2 separate regions of the Homo sapiens genome follow, and region 2 is linked to region 1. Evidence: promoter capture Hi-C in 16 types of primary human blood cells and fetal thymus (Javierre and others, 2016). All regions are on one chromosome and are shown on one strand. Each heading gives the region's core, a stretch centred on a gene start or on the middle of the fragment in contact. The rest is flanking DNA. Distances are from core to core; before and after follow the strand shown.

What was found. Contacts are between HindIII fragments. The CHiCAGO score rates a contact against its expected background, and 5 or more counts as called.
Region 2: a contact is called between a fragment that was not itself captured here and the fragment with the promoter of FLNB in region 1, in 1 of 17 cell types (endothelial precursors). The highest score is 7.5, in endothelial precursors.

Annotation. Positions count from the first base shown.
Region 1 is chr3:58,006,224-58,010,219 of GRCh38, reverse strand. It overlaps FLNB (filamin B), which reads right to left and starts at 1,798. Exons shown (of 46, transcript NM_001457.4): 1 at 1,364-1,798. The coding sequence starts at 1,655. The HindIII fragment of the contact is 11,042 bases long and covers 1-3,996 here.
Region 2 is chr3:58,086,877-58,090,872 of GRCh38, reverse strand. The region is part of intron 4 of FLNB (filamin B); the gene reads right to left. Among named protein-coding and RNA genes, the nearest start is that of FLNB, 80 kb to the right of the region's middle. The HindIII fragment of the contact is 1,730 bases long and covers 771-2,500 here.

The sequences.
Region 1 (3,996 bases), core at 549-3,048:
ACCCAAATCACAGGCCAGGGCCAGTCCCTGGTTCTCCTTAGGAAGAGATCCAGACCCAGAACCCTCCTCTGCCCCAACCCACACCCACCCACCCACATACACACACACACATACACACACCCATACACACGTGTAGGTGGATACACATTCTCTGCATACATTCCGTGTACATGCAAACTCTTTGCATATGCACATGCTATACACACATGCTATGTGTGTACACACGTTCTCTGCACAAACGCCCACATGCACACACACATCACAGCCCCTACCATCACAGCCCACACTATCAGTAGCCTTGTGGCCCTCTGGGAAGCCTCCAACTATCTCAGACCACAAGGGAGACTTCATCCTTATTCTTCCTCCCCAGACCAGAAGGCCCAGTCCAGCAAGAGACACCAATTCCCTCCCTCCTTTCAGGAAGACCCTGGTGTAGGTTTGGGAGAGGAGAGGAAAACAAAGCCTCCTTCTAACTGTTGCCCACTTCCTTCAGTTCTCAGCTGGGCCCTACTTGCTGACCTTGGACAGGTCAATTAACCCTCCGGACCCCCTTATCTGTAAAATGGGTCTAGCCTCACCCCAGATGGCAGGATGCGTAGGGACGGAGATAACTTAGAAGGCTGACGGTACACAGTGGACGCTAGTTGGGCTCCCTACAAGACAGCAATTACTGTTACCACCACCATCTCTAAATTATAACTTCGGCAGCAAGGAGTGGGTTCAACCTGCGGCGCGCGGCCAGAGCTGAGCTGGGAGCAGAGAGAGCGAGGACACACACCCGCGCCTACCCTTGCAACCTCGGGGCCCACACCCATTCCAGCGACGGCAGGGGAAGGTACCAGGTCTCTGTCTCCACCTGGGCAGGGAGGCCCCAGGCGCAGAGAACGGTTCCTCCTCAGGTCTCACGGCCCGGCCTCCGAGCCAACGCCCATTCAGCTGCCTCTGAGAGCACCAACCTGGGCGCAGCAGGGAGAGCACTCCGCGGAGCATCTGACCCTAGGGCCCGCCCCCGGGGACAGCGAACGAGGGTTTCTAGTCCCCTAGCTCCCATAGGGGCGCCCCAGGTGTAGAGAAATGCAACAACTCCACCTCTCCTCCTGTGACCCCAGCCCAAACCCTCAACCCTTAGCCAGCCAAAGGTGCACTGCTGGGGCGGATGGCGGGGAGCGATCACAACAGGTCCCATCCCAGGGGAAGACACCGGGGAGGGGGTCTAGGCCCCCTATAACCCACCCCTGGGGACGACTCCCCCTTATCTCCGAGGTGGGGGCGCGCTGCGGGAAATCCTCGCCCTCCGCAGGGGTGCACGCGCGGGGGCGGGTCGGCACCACAGTGGGCGCCTGGGCCCGGCCAGAGAACTCACCGATGGACACGAGCTTGATGCTCTCACGGTCCAGGAACTCGAGCGCCACGGACACATTCTCGAGCTGCATCTGGCGAAAGGTGGGCCGCTGATGGTACTTGCGGTACATGCGCTTCTGGCTGAGCACCTCGAGCAGCGCGATGAGCCGCAGCCCGTCGCTCAGGTCGGTCTGCAGGTTGCCGATGCGTTTGTTCACGCACTTGAGGTGCTCGTTGCACCAGCGTGTGAACGTGTTCTGCTGGATCTTCTTCCAAGGCGCGTCCTCAGCTAGATCCTTCTCGGTTACCGGCATCCTGGTGGCGGGGAGAGCGCAATGCGCAACGAGCTGCCGGGGACTGGTGTTTGGAGGCCCAAGGGCCGAAGGAGCGAGAACCGAAGCGGAGCGGGAGCGGGGTTCGAACTTGCTGCTACCGGAGCCACGGCCGGTGCTGCTCTGCGGCCGCCCGCCCCTGGCCGCGCGAGGCGCCTGGCCCCGCGCCTGCGCGCTGAGCCGCCCCGCCCCCAAGCCCCGCCCCGTCCCGACCCTCCCGCGGGAGTTCCTGGGCCACGCTCGCCTCCTGCCGCCTGCCGCAGGCACTGCGCCCCACTGCGTCCTGGGACCCGCGCTCGAAGCCCACCACCCCAGCAGGATGTAGGGCTGCCTGAATCACCCGGTCAGCCCCGGGGTGGGGGGACCCGCGGGGGCTGGGAGCCGGACAGAATGGGTCGGGCCTCAGTGGGACTTGCGGGAGGGGCGCGCGGGGCGGAGGTCTTCATCCACATATAGATTGAATAAAATTCAGTAAGGGCTTTTATTGAGCTCCGCCTGTGTACCAGCCATTCTTCTCAGAGCCTGCTAACCAGTAGTAAATCAGACAAACGTATTGCACAACCTCAAGGAGTTCACACAGCCTAATGGAAGAGAAAAGTGTAATTCCACCATAACCAACAGCCCAGTAGTGGTGGTAAAAATGAACAATAAGGCTTGTTGCATGTCTTAGTTTCCAGTTACTGCTGTAACAAGTTACCAAAACTTAGTGTCTTTGAAAACACACACCCACAAATGTATTATCCTTCAGTTCTGTAGGTTCGATGGCCCACACAGGTCTTGCTGAGCTAAAAACAAAGTGTTGGCAGGATGCATTCCCTTCTGGAGGCTGTAGGGAAGAATCTGTTTCCTTGTGTTTTCTAACTTCCAGAAGCTGCCTGCGCGCCTGACTCCTGCCCCTTTTCTCTGTGAAAGCCTGCAATGGGCTGGGCACAATGGCTCACACCTGTAATCCCAGCACTTTGGGAGGCCAAGGTGGGTGGATCACCTGAGGTCAGGAGTTCGAGACCAGCCTGGCCAACATGGTAAAACCCCATCTCTACTTAAAATACAAAAATTAGCCAGGTGTGGTGGCGCGTACCTGTAATCCCAGCTACTGGGAAGGCTGAGATAGGAGAATCGCTTGAACCTGGGAGGCAGAGGTTACAGTGAGCTGAGATGGTGCCATTGCACTCCAGCCTGGGCGACAGAGCAAAACTCCGTCTCAAAAAAAAAAAAAAAAAAAAAAAAAACAGAAAAGCAAGCCTGCAATGTCAGGTGGAGTCTCTCAGACCTCAGACAGTCCTCTCTCCATAGGCACATCTTCCTTTTTTTTTTTTTTCCTGCGATGGAGTCTTACTCCGTTGCCCAGGCTAGAGTCCAGTGGTGCAATCTCGGCTCACTGCAACCTCCTCCTCCTGGGTTCAAGCAATTCTCTTGCCTCAACCTCCTGAGTGGCTGGGATTACAGGCACCCGCCACCACGCTCCGCTAATTTTTGTATTTTTAATAGAGACGGGCTTTCACCATGTTGGCCAGGCTGGTCTTGAACTCCTGACCTCAAGCGATCCACCAGCCTCTGCCTCCCAAAGTGATGGGATTACAGGCATGAGCCACCTTGCCCAGCCTTTTTTTTGTCTCACTCCGTCTCCCAAACTGGAGTGCTATGACTCAATCTCGGCTCCCTGCAGCTTCAACCTCCCCACACCTGGCCCTTTTAAGGACTCTTAAGATGACATTGGGCCAGCTGGTTAGTCCAACATGATCTCCCTATTTTAAAATCAGCCGATTAAGAACCCTAATCCTGTTTGCAACCTTAATTCCCCTTTGCCATTTAAGGGAATGTTCACAGGTCCTGAGAGTTAGGATGTGAACGTCTTTGGGGGCTATTACTCTGCCTACCACAGCATACATTGAGCACTTACTCTGTACTCATCCAGGTTCTGTGCTAGGTTCTGAGATATGGCAGAGTCTCAGGCCAGCCCTCTGTTGATAAAAGCCTGAATAATTACAACAGCAAGCATTGAATGAACACCTGCTGTTCCTCTGTGCCAAGCACAGTGCAAAGCAATTTCTTTCAAGTCGGGTGCAGTGGCTCACACCTGTAATCCCAGCACCTTGGGAGGCCAAGGTGGGCAGATCACCTGAGGTCAGGAGTTCGAGACCAGCCTGACCAACATGAAAAAACCCTAGCTCTACTAAAAATACAAAAAATTAGCTGGGCGTGGTGGCGCATGCCTGTAATCCCAGCTACTTGGGAGGCTGAGGCAGGAGAATCGCTTGAACCCAGGAGGCAGAGGTTGTGGTGAGCCAAGATTGCACTCCAGCCTGGGCAATAACAGTGAAAC
Region 2 (3,996 bases), core at 386-2,885, 81 kb before region 1:
TCTCCTGACCTCATGATCCGCCCATCGCCCACCTCGGCCTCCCAAAGTGCTGGGATTACAGGCGTGAGCCACCGAGCCAGGCTGTTGACTGATTTTCTAATAGTGAACGAGGCCTTGCATCCCTGCAATAAACCCCACTTGGTTATAATGCATACTTCTTCATTATATACAGCTCAATTTTATTTGCTAATATAGTCATTTGCTAAATAATGAAGTTTCAGTCAAAAATAGTCCACACATACAATGATGGTCCCGTAAGATTATAAATAGAGCCAAAAAATTCCTGTTGCCTACTGACGTCACAGTAACGCATCGCATTACTCATGTATTTGTGATGATGCTGGTATAAACAAACCCACTGGGCTACCGGCCATAGAAACATATATAGCACAGACAATTATGTTCAATACATAATACTTGATGATAAATGACAATGCTACTGGTTTATGTATTTAATATGCTATACTTTTTATCATTATATTTTAGAGTGGGCATCTTCTATTTAAAAATTAAGTTAACTGTAAAGCAGCCTCAAGCAAGTCCTTCAGGAAATATTCTAGAAGAAGGCATTGTTATTATAGGAGACGGCGGTTCCACACATTACTGCTCTTGACGACCTACCAGTGGGACAGTGGGACAGGATTTGGAGGTGGAAGATAGTGATAATGATGATCCTGACCCTGTGTAAGTCTAGACTAATGTGTGTGTTTAAAAAAAAAAAAAAGTTTTAAAAGTACAAAAATGAAAAGTTTTAAACACAGAAAAAAGCTTACAGAGGCCGGGTCCAGTGGCTCACACCTGTAATCCCAGCACTTTGGATCACCTAAGGTGGATTACCGAGGTGGATCACCTAAGGTCAGGAGTTCAAGACCAGCCAGGCCAACAGGGTGAAACTACGTCTCTACTAAAAATAAAAAAATTAGCCAGAAGTGGTGGTGGGCACCTGTAAGCCCAGCTACTAGGGAGGCTGAGGCAGGAGAATAGCTTGAACCCAGGAGGCAGAGGTTGCAGTAAGCCAAGATCACTCCACTGTACTCTAGCCTGGGTGACAAGAGCAAAACTCCACCTCAGAACAAAACAACCAATTGTTGTCCAGTTGAAGGATTCTTTTCTCTGTCCTTCCACCCTGCTATTGCGCTTATCCAATAAGTTTTTATTTCAGTTACTGCAATTTCCAATTCTAAAATGTCCATTTGGTTCTTTTTATCTCCTAAATTTTTATTATTATTTTGCTGGGACATTGTATTTCTTTGTTGAGATTTTTAATTTTTTCATTTTTTTCATGATTGTTCTTAACTGCCTACCGAAGCCTTTTTTTTTTTTTTTGAGATGGAGTCTCACTCTTCTTGCCCAGGCTGGAGGGCAACGGCATGACCTCAGCTCACTGCAACCTCCACCTCCCAGTTTCAAGCGATTCTCCTGCCTCAGCCTCCCGAGTAGCTGGGATTACAGGTGCCCACCACCTCACCTGGCTAATTTTTTGTATTTTTAGTAGAGACTGGGTTTCATAAGGTTGGTCAGGCTGGTATCGAATTCCTGACCTCAGGTGATCTGCCCGCCTCGGCCTCCCAAAGTCCTGGGATTACAAGCCTCCCAAAGTGAGCCACCACGCCTGGCTACTGAAGCCTTTTTTAATGGCTGCTTTAAAATTTTTGTCATAGGATTCTAACATCTCTATCACCTCAGTGTTGGCATCAACTGTCTTTTTCATTCAGTTTGAGATCTTCCTGGTTCTTGGTATGACAAGTGATTTCTTTTTTTTTTTGAAACTGGATATTTGGGGTATCATGTAATGAGACTCTGGGTCTTCTGTAAATGTTCTGTTGTAGCTGGCATTTTATGATACCACTGTGGCAGGGGAGGGAAGGGTACACACCTTGTTACTAACAGTGGGGGAAGAAGTCTAGGCTCTCCATTCAACCTCGACTGATGCTCAAGATTGGGGGGCTCATTACTGGTGCGTGAAGGTGGGAGTTCTGGCTGGAGGAAGTAGGAGTGCCTCATTACTGCTCCTCCATGGCCCCGGAGAGTGGCTTCCTTATTGCTAGACTGTTGTCAAAGCCTAGGCTCCCCATTCACCTCTGCGGGTGTAAGTGTGGGGCTGCATAGTTTTTTCTATGGTGTGGACCTGGAGTAGAGCAGTGACTCTTTAAGTTTTCTGCCTCACTGGGCTGCCCTTTCCTGGTCTTCTGGCTGGACAGGGGAGCTTTTGTTGGCACTTTCTGTGTTTGTGCCCACTGGCATTTTCAGGTTGTCAGCTTCTTTCTTTGGCTCCAAGTCTGGGATATATAAAGCAAAGTAAACCCAAGGAACTCAGTACTGTGTCATTCCTCGAGTCCCAAGATCCCTGGTTGGTCTGCCTCATCCTTTTTCAGAGGCTCCCTGTGTTTTCCTTATGTATAGCCCAGGGGTTTTAGTTGTAGTTAGAAGAAAGAATTAGGAAAAGTCCTATTCCATCTTCCCAGGAGCAGAAGTCCAAATATTACCTTTTTAAAAAGCTTTTTATTATGAAGAATTCCAAACTAGGCTGGACACAGTGGCTCACACCTGTAATTCCAGCAATTTGGGAGGCCAAGGCAGGTGGATTACCTGAGGTCAGGAGTTCGAGACCAGCCTGGCCAACATGGTGAAACTCCGTCTCTACTAAAAATACAAAAATTAGCCAGGTGTGATGGTAGATGCCTATAATCTCAGCTACTCGGGAGGCTGAGGCAGGAGAATCCCTTGAACCCAGGAGGCAGAGGCGGGGGTTGCAGCGAGCCAAGATCATACCATTGCACTCCAACCTGTGAAACAGAAGTGAAACTTCAGCAAAAAAAAAAAAAAAAAAAAAAGGCTGGGCGCCGTGGTTCACACCTGTAATCTCAGCACTTTCGAGGCCAAGGTGGGCAGATCACCCAAGGTCAGCAGTTCAAGACCAGCCTGACCAACATGGTGTAACCTTGTCTCTACTAAAAATACAAAATTGGCGGGGTGTGGTGGTGCATGCCTGTAATCCCAGCTACTTGGGAGGCTGAGGCAGGAGAATTACTTGAATCCAGGAGGCAGAGGTTGCAGTGAGCCGAGATCGTGCCATTGCACTCCAGCCTGGGCAACAAGAGCGAAACTCTGTCTCAAAAAAAAGGCTGGGCGCAGTGGCTCACACCTGTAATCCCAACACTTCGGGAGGCCGAGGCAGGTGGATCACGAGGTCAGGAGTTCAAGACCAGCCTGGCCAAGATGGTGAAACCCCATCTCTACTAAAACTACAAAATTAGCCGGGTGTGGTGGTGGGCGCCTGTAATCCCAGCTACTTGGCAGGCTGAGGCAGGAGAACGCTTGAACCCGGGCAGCAGAGGTTGCAGTGGGCCGAGATCATGCCACTGCACTCCAGCCTGGGCGACAGAGTGAGACTCCGTCTCAAAAAAAAAAAAGAATTACAAACACAGATGTAGAGAGCACTGCACAGTGGACCTCCTGTACCCAGCTTCAACAACTATCAACTCACAGCTGGTCTTGTTTCACCTTCACTCCCGCCACCTCCCCTTCCTGTATTATTTTGACACAAATCCTAGACCTCAGATTTTTTATCCACAATCACTATGTATCCTTAAAAGATACTTGCAAAGTACCCACAATATCGATACCATATAAAAAAAAATAATTCCTTAATGTCAAATATTCAGTGTTCAAATTTTCAATTATCTTATAAATATCATGAATTTCTTACAGCACCTTGAGCTGCTGCTTTATCATGAATTTTTATTTGTTTGTTTGTTTGTTTGAGACAGAGTCTAGCTCTGTCGCCAGCCTGGAGTGCAGTGGCGCCATCTCGGTTCACTGCAACCTCCACCTCCCAGGTTCAAGCGATTTTCCTGCCTCAGCCTCCCAAGTAGCTGGGACTACAGGCACATGCCGCCATGCCCAGCTAATTTTTGTATTTTTGGTAAAGGGGGTTTCACCACGTTGGCCAGGATGGTCTCGATCTCCTGACCTCGTGATCCACCCACCTCAGCC